Linked DNA regions of Homo sapiens: regions 2, 3, 4 and 5 are each linked to region 1. The links are contacts of gene promoters, found by promoter capture Hi-C in blood cells and fetal thymus (Javierre and others, 2016). All regions are on one chromosome and are shown on one strand. The core of a region is centred on a gene start or on the middle of the fragment in contact, and the rest is flanking DNA. Distances in the headings are between cores, read along the strand shown. Region 1 holds the start of EIF4G1 (eukaryotic translation initiation factor 4 gamma 1). Region 2 overlaps DVL3 (dishevelled segment polarity protein 3). Region 3 overlaps LINC01839 (long intergenic non-protein coding RNA 1839). Region 4 has its middle 4.6 kb from the start of DVL3. Region 5 overlaps LINC01839 (long intergenic non-protein coding RNA 1839).

Region 1 (2,804 bases), core at 53-2,552:
TTAGAATGTTTCTAACTTTTTAAACGACAAATCTCATACTACTTGCCTAGTTAGAATGTTTCTATCCTTTTAATTTCCTTTGTTATAGGCCTTTCAAGGACCTAATCTAAATTCTTTTCAAAGCCTGCATAATTCGTGTTGTATCACGATTTACTTAGGCAGGACTGAGTCTTTAATTTCTTTTTTTCTTTCTTTTTTTTTTTTTTTGAGATGGAGTCTCACCCTGTCGCCAGGCTAGAGTGCAGTGGCGTAATTTCGGCTCACTGCAACCTCCGCCTCCCGGGTTCAAGCAATTCTCTGCCTCTGCCTACCGAGTAGCTAGGACTACAGGCGTGCGCCACCAGGCCCAGCTAATTTTTTGTATTTTAGTAGAGACGGGGTTTCACCATGTTGGCCAGGATGGTCTAGATCTCCTGACCCCGTGATCCGCCCGCCTCGGCCTCCCAAAGTGCTGGGATTACAGGCGTGAGCCACTGCGCCCGGCCCATGATCTTTTTAAACTACAAATCTCATACTACTTGCCTAATTAGAATGTTTCTATCCTTTTAATTTCCTTTGTTATTGGCCTTTCAATGACCTAATCTAAATTATTTTCAAAGCCTGCATAATTCGTATTGTATCACGATTTACTTAGGCAGGACGGAGTCTTTAATTTCTTTCTTTTTTTTTTTTGAGATGGAGTCTCGCCCTGTCGCCAGGCTAGGCTAGAGTGCAGTGGCACAATCTCCGCTCACTGCAACCTCTGCCTCCCGGGCTCAAACAATTCTCCTGCCTCAGCCTCCCAAGTAGCTGGGACTACGGGTGCGCCACCACGCCCGGCTAATTTTTGTATTTTTAGTAAAGACGGGGTTTCACCATGTTGGCCAGGATGGTCTCGATCTCTTGACCTCGTGATCCGCCCACCTCGGCCTCCCAAAGTACTGGGATTAAGGTGTGAGCCACCGCGCCCCGCTTATTTTTTTTTTTTTTTTGCCGAGACTTTGATTTCAGTTTCTCAGCCCTCAACCAGCACTTCGCCTTGTACTTAGCATGCACTCAATAAATGGTTGCTTAAAATATGAATGAACTAAAGAATCGCGGAACAGAGAGAAACACAGAGGGGAATCGGTCTGGGAGTTTCAAAGTTCGGGAGGGGACACGGGGGCGGGCTGTGGCTGTCACGTGACGGGGCGGGGGCAAATCCCATGTGCTCGGCGGCGCAGATCGCCCGGCGCGGCTCCGCCCCCTGCGCCGGTCACGTGGGGGCGCCGGCTGCGCCTGCGGAGAAGCGGTGGCCGCCGAGCGGGATCTGTGCGGGGAGCCGGAAATGGTTGTGGACTACGTCTGTGCGGCTGCGTGGGGCTCGGCCGCGCGGACTGAAGGAGACTGAAGGTAAAGCCGCCATGTCCGGGCCCGACCCGGCCCCCCCACCCCCTCCCCCCGCATCCGCCGCCATCCGGGCCGGGACCGGCCACCCTGCGCCGCCGCCCCGGCGCCCTGGCCCCGCGGCCCGACCCAGGGCCCCGGCCCGCCAGGGTCCCGATCCCCGGCCCACGTGTGCCTGGCCCGGCCGGGCCTGGCTGCTGGGTGGGGGTGGGGAGCGCAGGGCCGGACTATGCGGGCCCCGCGGGCTGGTAGGGCGCCGGGTTCGTCGCCGCGAAATGCCACCTCGGCCTGACCCGAGGAGGCCCGGCAGCCCACGGGCGCAGGCACCACGGCTCCCGGCCCGCCGCCCCCTCCCCCCTTCGCGGCCAGGCCGCCGGGAAGTGACACGTTGTTCTTTGGCACTGGCCCGCGCTGCGCAGGGAGGGCGCAGGGGAGGGAGGCGGTGGCGGCGGGCAGGGAGGAGCCCCCGGCCCCGCCCGCCCTCCGGGCCGACCCTCACTTGCCTGAAACCGGCTCCTCGACGGCCGCCGCCCGCCTGGCCTTTTAGGGCCTGACTCCCGCCCTTCCTGGCCTACACTCCTGGGCGGCGGCAGGCCTAGCTTCTGGCCCAGTGCGGGTTCCCCGGCGGCAGGCGTATCCTGTGTGCCCCTGGGCCAGGCCCGAACCCGGTGTCCCCGGGTGGGGGGTGGGGACGCCACGGCCGAAGCAGCTAGCTCCGTTCGTGATCCGGGAGCCTGGTGCCAGCGAGACCTGGAATTTCCGGTCTGGTTGGTCTGGGGCCCCGCGGAGCCAGGTTGATACCCTCACCTCCCAACCCCAGGCCCTCGGATGCCCAGAACCTGTAGGCCGCACCGTGGACTTGTTCTTAATCGAGGGGGTGAGTGAGGGGTCTGTTTCAGTAGGTCAGGGGTTGGTTGGAAGTGATGCGGGTTTGACAGCATGTTGGTGGGGACAGGCTGTATCTTTTCTGCTTCACCCTCTTGGCATCTCTGGGACTCCGTATGGGACCCAGCCCTTGCATCAACCCTTTCACCGCCCCATTTGCCTTAAGCTTGGGTCCCTTCCTCTTCCTGAGCGCCACTCTTTCCCAACAGGTGCTGGGGGGACCCTGATGTGGCACCAAATGAAATGAACAAAGCTCCACAGTCCACAGGCCCCCCACCCGCCCCATCCCCCGGACTCCCACAGGTAATTAGGGAGGAATTAGCAGGGGTGGGGGTGGGGGAGACCAGGCAGTCTCCAGCCTCTGGATCTTCCTACCCCCATCTGTGTCAGGGCAAAGTGCAGCCGCCTGCTGCCAAATTGAGACAGGGCCCCTGGGCTGTCCCCGGGGGCTGTCACGGGGAGGGGGTATGTGGATTGTTAAGGCTCTTGCCGCAGATCTGCTCCCCTTATTTCACCAGCTTGGGTTTCTGCCCCACCTGGGCTTCCCCTCTTGC
Region 2 (2,700 bases), core at 113-2,612, 140 kb before region 1:
AGCGGCAGCGATCGGAGGAAGGAGAAGGACCCGAAGGCCGGGGACTCCAAGTCCGGGGGCAGCGGCAGCGAATCGGACCACACCACACGCAGCAGCCTGCGGGGGCCGCGGGAGCGGGCGCCCAGCGAGCGCTCAGGGCCGGCGGCCAGCGAGCACAGCCACCGCAGCCACCATTCCCTGGCCAGCAGCCTTCGCAGCCACCACACACACCCGAGCTACGGTCCTCCCGGAGTGCCCCCTCTCTACGGCCCCCCCATGCTGATGATGCCCCCGCCGCCCGCGGCCATGGGGCCCCCAGGAGCCCCTCCGGGCCGCGACCTGGCCTCAGTGCCCCCGGAACTGACCGCCAGCAGACAGTCCTTCCGCATGGCCATGGGAAACCCCAGTGAGTTCTTTGTGGATGTGATGTGAGCAGGGCCCCTCCCCCAGCTCCATTCCGCTCCCACCCCAGCCGGCTGCGTTCCTCTCTCCATCCGTCCGTCTTTTTTACTTTGTCTGGTACCTGAAAGGGAAATAAAAGGAACTAAATCCAGGTGCGCTAACTGCTCGCAGGGTGCTGCGAGGGTGGGGTGCACCTACCGATTGGCTCTGCAGCCCCCTAACCTGCCTCTGGCCCCAGTTCGTTTCCTCTGCCCACTAATCCCTGCGCAGGACTTCCCAGGACCCCTTTTGTCTCTGGGACCAGACTTGTTGGTGCTACCCCTTACTCCCCTCTGCAACCCCCATTTTGGGAGTTGACCCCAGCAATGACCTTGGTGGCACGCTCACTCCCTCATTCTCTCGTTTCCCCTTTAGCTCCCTTTCACCATTTATTCAGCTACATCATCCCTCTATTAACCCCACCCCATCAGGCACGTGTGCAAACCTCTTGACTTTACCCCACATTACTGAAACCAAAATATATTTGCTTCATCTGCCCCTACTAACCATCCCCCTGCCTGCTGCCTCAGTCCTGCAACCTAAAGCTGTAGTCGCCTCCAATAGCCATCCATGCCATCCCTGCCTGTGCCTAGATCAGAGGCCCAGAGGGCCCCCTCAGTTGCCTGAGCAGCTGGTGGCTTCCAGGGAGCATCTCTGCTCTACCCCTGCCCCATGCCTGCCCTGCGTGCTGGTTCCTTCAGACCCCTAACCCTACTAACCAGCAGGCTCATCTCACCTCCAGGCCTGAAACATTTCTTTTCTTTCTTTTTTCCTCCCCCAATTTACCCTGGGCCTGGAGCAGCCAAGAATTTCGGGCTGTTTGACTTTCTGTGAGCCCCCAGCGAGGGGAGGCCCAGCCTCCGAGGAGACCAGGAACCCTGCTTCAGCAGCCCCTCAGGGCTTCCCAAGGATGTCCAGCCCCCACACCCACACGTTAACATAATGAGTCACTAGGCTTCTGGGGAGGGCCCAACTTCACCCATGCATGAGAGACTCTCCTCCTTTCCAGAGAGAATCGGATCGCACCACGTGTGGCAGCCTGCGGCGGGGGGAGGGGGGCCTCTTTAGCTCTCTTTATCTTTCTCTCTCACTCATGTATGCATACATGCACAGAGATGCATACACAGGTGCCTATGCAAGTTCATTTAAGCCTCAGGGCTGGTCCCTGCCCAAAGGGCTGGACCCTCCTAATCCTCTCCTAGGTTGTGGGGCTGGTCCCCTGACACCCTTCTCCCCTTCCTGGTAGACCTTAAACCTCGCACACATGTCCCCAGCATTTTCTCACCTGGATAAAGCCCATAAGCTGGGTCTCAGGCTGGGCTCAGCAAAGGACTCGCCTTGCAACCGACAGGCCATTCCCACCCCCACACACAACCTCCCCTGTTTTCACATTCACCATGGCATCCCAGAGCAAGGACACAGGAGCCCACAGGCCAGTTGAGGTTGGGCAAGGAGACTTCCAGGACTTCCAGACAGAGTACCAGGTTTTATTTTTCACCTTATTCTCTACTTTAAACAAATCATAACTTTCTCTTTAAGCCTCTGCTATAAATTCTCCTGGCTCTCCTGGGCTTCCATATTTTGGGGGCTGGGGTGTCAAAAGTGAGATGAAGTTCTTAGCTCCAGGTTTTGGGGTAAACCAAGGTAGGAACATTTTGGCATTTATTTCAATTAACAATACTTCCTTGGACGGGTGCGGTGGCTCACGTCTGTAATCCCAGCACTTTGGGAGGCTGAGACAGGTGGATCACTTGAGGTCGGGAGTTCGAGACCAGCCTGGCCAACATAGCAAAACCCTGTCTCTACTAAAAATACAAAAATTAGATGGGTGTTTTGGCACCTGCCTGTAATCTCAGCTACTCAGGAGGCTGAGGCACAAGAATCGCTTGAATCCAGGAAGCAAGCGGAGGTTGCAGTGAGTTGAGATCGCACTCCAGCCTGGGTGACAGAGTGAGATTCTGTCTCAAAAGCAAACTAACAAAGAAAAACAATACTTCCTGGGGTTTTGGTGTGCAGAGGGCTTTGTTGGAAGTGTGACTCAATCTTGCCTGCCTTCTGGGAGCTCTAGAATTGTTCCCAACCCAGTCCATGGCTTCTAGCCACCACTACAGGGCTGTTTCATGTACTTCTCTCTCTGACTCTGTCTTGTCCGACTCTCTTGAGAATTTCTCAACGATTGCTCATGCCTGTCAGTATCAGTGCTTCCATCGTTCCATCTTTGATTCACTTCTCTTTCCTTTCTATTTACTCCCAAAATGGAGTCATTCATCCTGATGTCCT
Region 3 (2,700 bases), core at 105-2,604, 230 kb after region 1:
CGAGAACTAACAACTGGCAAACTCAAGAGCTGTGGTGGCTCCAGCAGTGCCGCTGCTGCTTGTGGGTGGGAGATGTGGGGGCATGCATAGGCTGATTTTGCAGGTGGCTTTGGAGCAGTGGTTCAGGCAAAGGCGTTACAGGACCTAGAGCTGGGCCCAGGTGGAATCATTGTCTTATTGGGTGACTTTAGCCAAACTAGGAGTCTTAATGCTACCTTACAGGTTTTGTGTTTTTGTTTAGAATTAAAAGAGGCAGGGCCAGGCGAGGTGGCTCACGCCTGTAATCCCGGCACTTTGGGAGGCCGAGGTGGGTGGATCACCTGAGGTCGGGAGTTCGAAACCAGCCTGACCAACATGGAGAAACCCCGTCTCTACTAAAAATACAAAATTAGCTGGGTGTGGTGGCGCATGCCTGTAATCCCAGCTACTCAGGAGGCTGAGGCAGGAGAATCGCTCGAACCTGGGAGGCGGAGTTTGCGGTGAGCCAAGATTGTGCCATTGCACTCCAGCCTGGGCAACAAGAGCGAATCTCTGTCTCAAAAGAGAAAAAAAAAAATAGTGGCAATATCGGTGTAAGAGCCTACCATAGAGAAGTGCTTCATGGCAGCTGAACCTGAACCTGGCACATCCTGGGACGCCTGTGGCCGCAGGGGAACCGCCTGGCCCAGCAGAGCTCGCTGTTTGATATGAACACGGATCACACAAGACAACTGGTAACAGCAGTGGCCTCCTGGGAGGGGAAAGGCTTACCACGGGCAAGACAGGGAGGGACATTTGTTTTTTTAAATTTTGTACACGATACATCTATTTCTTGGTTCAAAAGTATGTCAACCATTTTCCACCTTGGCCTGCACGCAGTGGGGTGCTGTGAACGTTCAACAAGGGGCTCTGGGGCAGCCTGGTACCAGCAGGCTCCAGCGCCCCCACCGGTTGCACAGGTGTGGTAAGGCCAAAGCTTAAGGACTGATGACTAAGGTTGCTGTTCTCCCTCAGTGGGAGGGAAACCAAGGTCCAGAGAAAGCCGAGGCTCTCTCTTAGGACCAAAAATCCAGCGGTGGCAAAATTGAGTCTGAATCCAAGTCATTTGACTTGGAAGGGCCCGGGTTCAGGTCCAGCCTCTCTGTCCAGCTGTGACCTGAAACAAGTTGGCTAACGTGTCTGAGCCTGTATTTTCTTGAGGATGATAATATCCACTTCTCAAGATTGTTTTGCAGCTTCACTACAAAAAAAAAAAAAAAACAAAAAAACAAAAAAACTACCTGAGGGTGCTTTGAAAACCTTGAAACCCTGGCCAGGCGCGGTGACTCACACCTGTAATCCCAGCACTTTGGGAGGCCGAGGCAGGTGGATCACCTGAGGTCAGGAGTTCGAGACCAGCCTGGCCAACATGGTGAAACCCTGTCTCACTAAAACTACAAAATTAGCTGGGCATGGTGGCAGGCGCCGGTAATCTCAGCTACTTGGGAGGCTGAGGCAGGAGAATTGCTTGAACCAGGGAGGTAGAGGTTGCAGTGAGCCGAGATTGCGCCATTGCACTCCAGCCTGGGCAAAAAGAGCAAAACTCCGTCTAAAAGGAAAGAAAGAAAAAGAAAGAAAGAAAGAAGAAAGAAAGAGAAAGAGAGAGAGAAAGAAAGAAAGAAAGAAGAAAGAGAAAGAAAGAAAGACCTTAAAACTCTAATACAATATAATGGGTTTTTAAATAAAAAAGAAAATAGAAATCACCTTTTCCTCTAGCCCCTCAGTTCAGCATTAGTCAAGCTTTTTAACCTACTCTTGAACGTATCAAGAGCCTTCTTTACTTGGCCCACCCTGGGTAGAACTGGGATTCTCCCCAGTTCCTGAAGTTTCCATGGCTCTACTCTGTAACAAGGAAAAGGGAAACATGCGTCCTCCCTCCGCTGGAGTTTCTCCACAGGTGAGTCCTTTGCTGCCAAAGGTTGTACCTGTTCTGCCACCGCCCCCTGCTGGTGACTCTTACAAGGCGCCCTGTCTTCACTGGCATCCGAGCAGGTTGGAATTTAAGGGAAGTATCTAGATCCACCTAGATGGGGCTTGGTGAGGAGGAATCAAGCTGCTGGGTCTCGAGTAGCCTCCATCTCTGCACCGTGGCCACTGTGCCCATCATGCCGGCAATGGGCTGTCCAATGGCAAAGGAAGGCTGATGGAGGTTGACCAGGTCATTTTGTCTAGTTGGTTGTTCAGTGCCTGTCCGCAGTGGATGCTCTCTGGCAGCTGTGAACATGCGCTACAAAGACCTTCACACTTGGGCCCACTCCCAAATGTCCAGACACATCCTCCAGCCCAGACCTGCTGCTCCTCATCTTCCAGCCTTTTTCCTTCAGGTCCCAGCCTCCAACCACTCAGCTGAGCCATCAGCCACTACCCATGAGTTGTACATATCTTAACTTTGGGACCCTTCTCTTTCCACACAAAGGGGATGATTAGCTGCACCATCTGAAACTCCGCCTATTTATTGGAGGATTTTCTCCAATAATTTTGGAGAAATAGTTTCCAAAATTATTGGAAAATTATTCCAAAATAATTCCAAAACTATTGGAAAATTCCAAAATGATTTCCAATAATTTTTTCCAATCCACCCCTGAGTGAGGCTGCCATCATTTTTAGTTTGCACATACATGTGGAGCTGACCCATCTGTACCCCAAGTTCAGGCTTTTCCTCCCCGCTTTGGCTGGTTGGAC
Region 4 (2,700 bases), core at 76-2,575, 160 kb before region 1:
CTACTCGGGAGACTGAGGTGGGAGGATCACTTGTGCCCAGTTCGAGGCTGCAGTGAGCTATGATCACACCACTGCACTCCAGCCAGGAAGACAGAGCAAGACCTTGCCTCCAAAAAAAAAAAAAAAAGGCTGGGTGTGATGTGACTCACACCTGTAATCCCAGCACTTTGGGAGGCCAAGGTTGGCAGAGGATAACTTAAGCCCAGGAGTTTGATACCAGACTGGCCAATGTGGTGAAACCCTGTGTCTATTAAAAATACAAAATTAGGCCTTTCCTTTCAGTGGAGCGTGGCGGCAAGATGGCTGTGCAAATTTCCAAGAAGAGGATGTTTGTCACTGATGACATCTTCAAAGCTGAACTGAATGAGTTTCTTACTCAGGAGCTGGCTGAAGATGGCTACTCTGGAGTTGAGATGCAAGTTACACCAACCAGGACAGAAATCATTATCTTAGCCACCAGAACACAGAATATTCCTGGTGAGAAGGGCTGACGGATTCGGGAACTGACTGCTATAGTTCAGAAGAGGTTTGGCTTTCCAGAGGGCAGTGTAGAGCTTTATGCTGAAAAGGTTGCCACTAGAGGTCTGTGTGCCATTGCCCAGGCAGAGTCTCTGCGTTACAAACTCCTAGGAGGGCTTGCTGTGTGGAGGGCCTGCTATGGTGTGCTGCGGTTCATCATGGAGAGTGGGGCCAAAGGCTGCAAGGTCATGGCGTCTGGGAAACTCCGAGGACAGAGGGCTAAATCCATGAAGTTTGTGGATGGCCTGACGATCCACAGTGGAGACCCTATTAACTACTACGTTGGCACTGCTGTGTGCCACGTGTTGCTCAGACAGGGTGTGCTGGGCATCAAGGTGAAGATCATGCTGCCCTGGGACCCAACTGGTAAGACTGGCCCTAAGAAGCCCCTGCCTGACCACGTGAGCATCGTGGAACCCAAAGATGAGATACTGCCCACCACCCCCATCTCAGAACAGAAGGGTGGGAAGCCAGAGCCATCTGCCATGCCCCAGCCAGTCCCTACAGCATAACAGGGTCTCCTTAGCAGCTGTATTCTGGAGTCTGGATGTTGCTCTGTAAAGACCTTTAATAAAATCTCATACAAAGACAAAAAAATATATACAAAATTAGGGCTGGGCATGGTGGCTCACACCTGTAATCCCAGCACTTTGGGAGGCTGAGGCGGGCAGATCACCTGAGGTCAGGAGTTTGAGACAATCCTGGCCAACATGGTGGAACCCTGTCTCTACTAAAAATACAAAATATTAGCTGGGCATGGTGGTGCATGCCTGTAATCCCAGCTACTCAGGAGGCTGAGGCAGGAGAATCGCCTGAGCCCAGGAGGCAGAGGTTGCAGTGAGCCGAGATAGCTCCACTGCACTCCAGCCTGGATGATAGGGTGAGACTCCTTCTCAAAAAAAAAAAAAAAGAAAAAAAAAGTTAGCCGCATGTGGTGGTGTGCACCTGTAATCCCAGCTACTCAGGAGGCTGAGGCACGAGAATCACTTGAACCCAGGAGGTGGAGATTGCAGTGAGCTGAGACCACACCACTGCACTCCAGCCTGAGTGACAGAGTGAGACTCTGTCTCAAAAAAAAAGAACATTTTAATTACCATTTTTCCGTTTTTTTTTTTCTTTTAGACTGAGTTTTGTTCTGTTGCCCAGGCTGGAGTGCAGTGATGTGGTCTCAGCTCACTGCAATCTCCACCTCCCGGGTTCACGCGATTCTCGTGCCTCAGTCTCCTGAGTAGCTGGGATTACAGGTGCTTACCACCACACACGGCTACTTTTTTGTTTGTTTGTTTTTTTGAGAAGGAGTGTCGCTGTCACCCAGGCTGGAGTGCAGTGGCGTTGGGATTACAGGCATGGACCTGGTCTTAATTCAAGAATTTATTGTTGGCTGGGTACGGTGGTTCACACCTATAATCCCAGCACTTCGATAGGATCGCTTGAGCCAAGGAGTTTGAGGCTGCAGTGAGCCATGATTACCTCACTATACTCCAACCTGAGCAACAGAGCAAGGCCTTGTCTCAATAAACAGGTAAATAAAACAAAGGAGTAAAGTATCCAGGAAACAGATTCAACACAGAGACAGGTAAAGGGAATTTTGAGGATGCAGAGAAGTCCCAGGATGACAGCTGTGCACAGGCTGAGATAGCCGGCGGTGCAGACCAGAGCAAAAGAATGGAAGGTTCCACCAAGCGTGGTGGCTCACGCCTGTAATCCCAGCACTTTGAGAGGCTAAGGCGAGCGATCACCTGAGGTCAGGAGTTCCAGATCAGCCTGGCTAACATGGTGAGACCCTGTCTCTACTAAAAATACAATATTAGCTGGGCGTGGTGGCAGGCGCCTGTAATCCCAGCTACTTGGGAGGCTGAGGCAGGAGAATCACTTGAACCTGGGAGGCAGAGGTTGCAGTGAGCCGGAATCTCGCCACTGCACTCCAGCCTGGGCGACAGAGTGAGACTCCATCTAAAAAAAAAAAAAAAAAAAGATGGAAGCCTCCAGGGAAAAATTGAACTGATGGATTATCTAATAGCTTTGACTGAATGAACAAAATGTGTATTGAGAAACTATTAGATTACATGGGAAAAACTAATGATAGGTATAATATATTAAAACAAATGAAAACACAAGGCAATGATTAAAGTCAGAGGAAACAAAAAAGTTGTAAAGGAAACGATTATAAAACACACATGA
Region 5 (2,745 bases), core at 234-2,733, 210 kb after region 1:
CACTCCAGCCTGGGGGACAGAGAGAGACTCCATCTCAAAAAATATATATATAAAATAAAATAAAAATTGTATTATTTAAAAGAAGGAAATAAAACTATCATTAGCTGTAGGCAGTGTGACTGTGTATGTAAACATTCTAGAACAATCTAAAGATAATATGTTTAATTTAATGAATGGATTTAACAAGAATGCTGGCTCCAAGGTTGATATACCAAATATAGCACTGATTTGTAGCTCACTATTATTGCCACGTGTAACAACAGGAAATAATCCCACAAACATAATACAGAGAGAAAGGAGCAAAGGATTAAAACAAATACAGCATCATCTCATTCTTTTTTTTTTTTTTTTTTTTGAGACGGATCTCGTTCTGTTGCCCAGGCTGGAGTGCAGTGGTGCGATCTTAGCTCACTGAAGTCTCTGCCTCCTGGGTTCAAGCTATTCTCGGGCCTCAGCCTCCCAAGCAGCTGGGACTACAAGTGTGCACCACCATGCCTGGCTAATTTTTGTATTTTTAGTAGAGACGGGGTTTCACCATGTTGGCCAGGCTGGTCTCTAACTCCTGACCTCAGGTGATCTGCCGGCCTCGGCCTCCCAAAGTGCTGGGATTACAGACGTGAGCCACCACACCCAGCCTCATTCTATTTGAATAATATATTTTTTTAAACTAAGATATATTGTTTAGAGATATACATATACTGTTTATTACAGAAATCAGGCATTTCAGAAATTAGAAATCCCTCCCTGGTGGGGAGGGAGATTATTGTCTATAAGGGGCACAATGGAGCAGGAGGAGCAGTTCTAAGGTGTTGACAATGGTTTTTTTTTTTTTTTGAGACGGAGTCTCGCTCTGTCGCCCAGGCTGGAGTTCAGTGGCGCGATCTCGGCTCACCACAACCTCCACCTCCTGGGTTCACGCCATTCTCCTGCCTCAGCCTCCTGAGTAGCTGAGACTACAGGCGCCCGCCACCATGCCCGGCTAATTTTTTTTGTATTTTTAGTAGAGACGGGGTTTCACCGTGTTAGCCAGGATGGTCTCGATCTCCTGACCTCGCAATCCGCCTGCCTTGGCCTCCCAAAATGCTGGGATTACAGGCGTGAGCCACCGCGCCCGGCCCGACAATATTTTATTTCTCTACCTGGGTTGTAGTTACACAACTGTTCACTTTATATTTATCATAAGCCATATATATGTGTGTATATATATATGCGTATGTATAAAATCCTAGTTTTCTATATAGAGATATATACCATGTTTATCAATAGGAAGACTCAATATCATAAAGTTGTCTACTTCCCCAAATTAGTCTATGAAGTTACTGGTTTTTTGGTTTGTTTGTTTTTGAGATAGCATCTCACCCTGTCACCCAGACTAGAGTGCAGTGGCGTGAGCATGGCTCACTGCAGCCTTAAACTCCTGGGCTCAAGCCACCCTCCCACCTCAGCCTCTGGAGCAGCTGGGACTACAGGTGAACGCCACCAAGCCAGGCTAAGTTTTTTTTTTTTTTTAATTTTTGTAGAGATGGGGCCTTGCTATGTTGCACAGACTGGCCTTGAACTCCTGGCCTCAAATGATCCTTCTGCCTCGGCCTCCCAAAGTGCTGGGATTATAGGTGTGAGCTACCGTGCCTGGCCCTGAAGTTACTGGGTTTTTTTTTTCTTTTTCTTTTTTATTATTATTATTTTTTTACCGCTTATCCTCAAGTTCTATGAAGTTACTGTTTTAATCAAAATTCCCAACAAAGATTTTTATAGAACTGGTATGCTAACTTTAAAAAAATGTACATTTCACAATAAAAATGCATGTAAAGTACTATAATAAAAGATGAAACAATTTTAAAAATAGAACTCTTGGAGTGGGGAAAGCCTTTCTAAGTAAAGGACAAAACTCAGAAGACAAAAAAGGAAAAATAGAACATGTGCAAATACATTAAAGCAAAATTCTGTATGGAAAAAACAAAAAAAGTAAAAAAAAATGAAAAGTTAGAAAAAATACGGCAACTCATATGTTATATAAATAGCTAATTTCCTCAATATATAGTTAGCTCTTACTATCAACATAGGAATAAATACAGCCCAAAAGAAAATCAGCATACAGCAAGAAAAGATGTATAAATGGCTTAAAGACATACAAAAAGATGGGTTCTATTTCAACCATAATTAAGAAAATGCATATTAAAGAAAAAATAAGTTCTTCATTTTAAAATTTGATAATATAAAGTGTTAGCGTGAATGAGGGCAATGCAGATAGGCAATTCTCATGCGTTTGTTGGAATTGTAAATTGTTGCAATCTTTTTAGAGAGCGATTTGGCAGTCTATCAAAATTACACATGCATTTATTCTCTGCCCATTCCTATAGGGATGCTCCCATTGTTGTAAAGCTGTATGTATAAGAATGATGATTGCAGTGTTGTTTGTTATTGCAAAAGACTGGACACAAGTTAACAGGGAACTGGAAAATGAACTGTGTAGTTATTTTTAAAATGAGCTAAACTTTATGCACTAACATGGGAAGATTACAAAGGGAAAAGCAAAGTGCTGAACTGTATTTTATACTTTAATTGGTGTCAAAAAAATGGATGGGATAGATTTGGAGAGAATATAATCATATGCATAATTGTAGGAGACTACAATATTTCTGGAAGGCTACACAAGAACCTGTAAGCAGCGGAAGCCTGCTGGTGGGGGAGCCGATAACCTGAGGTGGGCAGGTGGGCAGCTGAGTTCCATTTGTACGCTTTGTA

Evidence for each region. The method cuts DNA at HindIII sites, captures the fragments that hold promoters and counts their contacts. A CHiCAGO score of 5 or more calls a contact.
Region 2: a contact is called between a fragment that was not itself captured here and the fragment with the promoter of EIF4G1 in region 1, in 11 of 17 cell types (total CD8 T cells, naive CD4 T cells, naive CD8 T cells and 8 more). The highest score is 9.1, in total CD8 T cells.
Region 3: a contact is called between a fragment that was not itself captured here and the fragment with the promoter of EIF4G1 in region 1, in 2 of 17 cell types (endothelial precursors and naive B cells). The highest score is 5.9, in endothelial precursors.
Region 4: a fragment that was not itself captured here is called in contact with the fragment with the promoter of EIF4G1 in region 1 in 3 of 17 cell types (M1 macrophages, endothelial precursors and total CD8 T cells); the score reaches 5.5 in M1 macrophages.
Region 5: a fragment that was not itself captured here is called in contact with the fragment with the promoter of EIF4G1 in region 1 in 1 of 17 cell types (naive B cells); the score reaches 5.9 in naive B cells.

The regions. Positions count from the first base shown.
Region 1 is chr3:184,313,304-184,316,107 of GRCh38, forward strand. It overlaps EIF4G1 (eukaryotic translation initiation factor 4 gamma 1), which reads left to right and starts at 1,303. Exons shown (of 33, transcript NM_198241.3): 1 at 1,303-1,371; 2 at 2,186-2,242; 3 at 2,460-2,553. The coding sequence starts at 2,494. RefSeq lists enhancers at 726-1,226, 1,951-2,572 and silencers at 1,054-1,383, 1,404-2,113. The HindIII fragment of the contact is 4,143 bases long and covers 1-2,414 here.
Region 2 is chr3:184,170,345-184,173,044 of GRCh38, forward strand. DVL3 (dishevelled segment polarity protein 3) reads left to right here. Exons shown (of 15, transcript NM_004423.4): 15 at 1-2,700. The coding sequence ends at 411. Among named protein-coding and RNA genes, the nearest start is that of AP2M1, 3.2 kb to the right of the region's middle. RefSeq lists an enhancer at 1,197-1,491. The HindIII fragment of the contact is 3,938 bases long and covers 1-2,700 here.
Region 3 is chr3:184,539,316-184,542,015 of GRCh38, forward strand. The region is part of intron 6 of LINC01839 (long intergenic non-protein coding RNA 1839); the gene reads left to right. Among named protein-coding and RNA genes, the nearest start is that of LINC01840, 16 kb to the right of the region's middle. The HindIII fragment of the contact is 803 bases long and covers 954-1,756 here.
Region 4 is chr3:184,149,405-184,152,104 of GRCh38, forward strand. It overlaps the pseudogene RPS3P3. Among named protein-coding and RNA genes, the nearest start is that of DVL3, 4.6 kb to the right of the region's middle. The HindIII fragment of the contact is 3,986 bases long and covers 1-2,700 here.
Region 5 is chr3:184,519,737-184,522,481 of GRCh38, forward strand. All of the region lies in intron 6 of LINC01839 (long intergenic non-protein coding RNA 1839), which reads left to right. Among named protein-coding and RNA genes, the nearest start is that of LINC01840, 36 kb to the right of the region's middle. The HindIII fragment of the contact is 7,583 bases long and covers 1-2,745 here.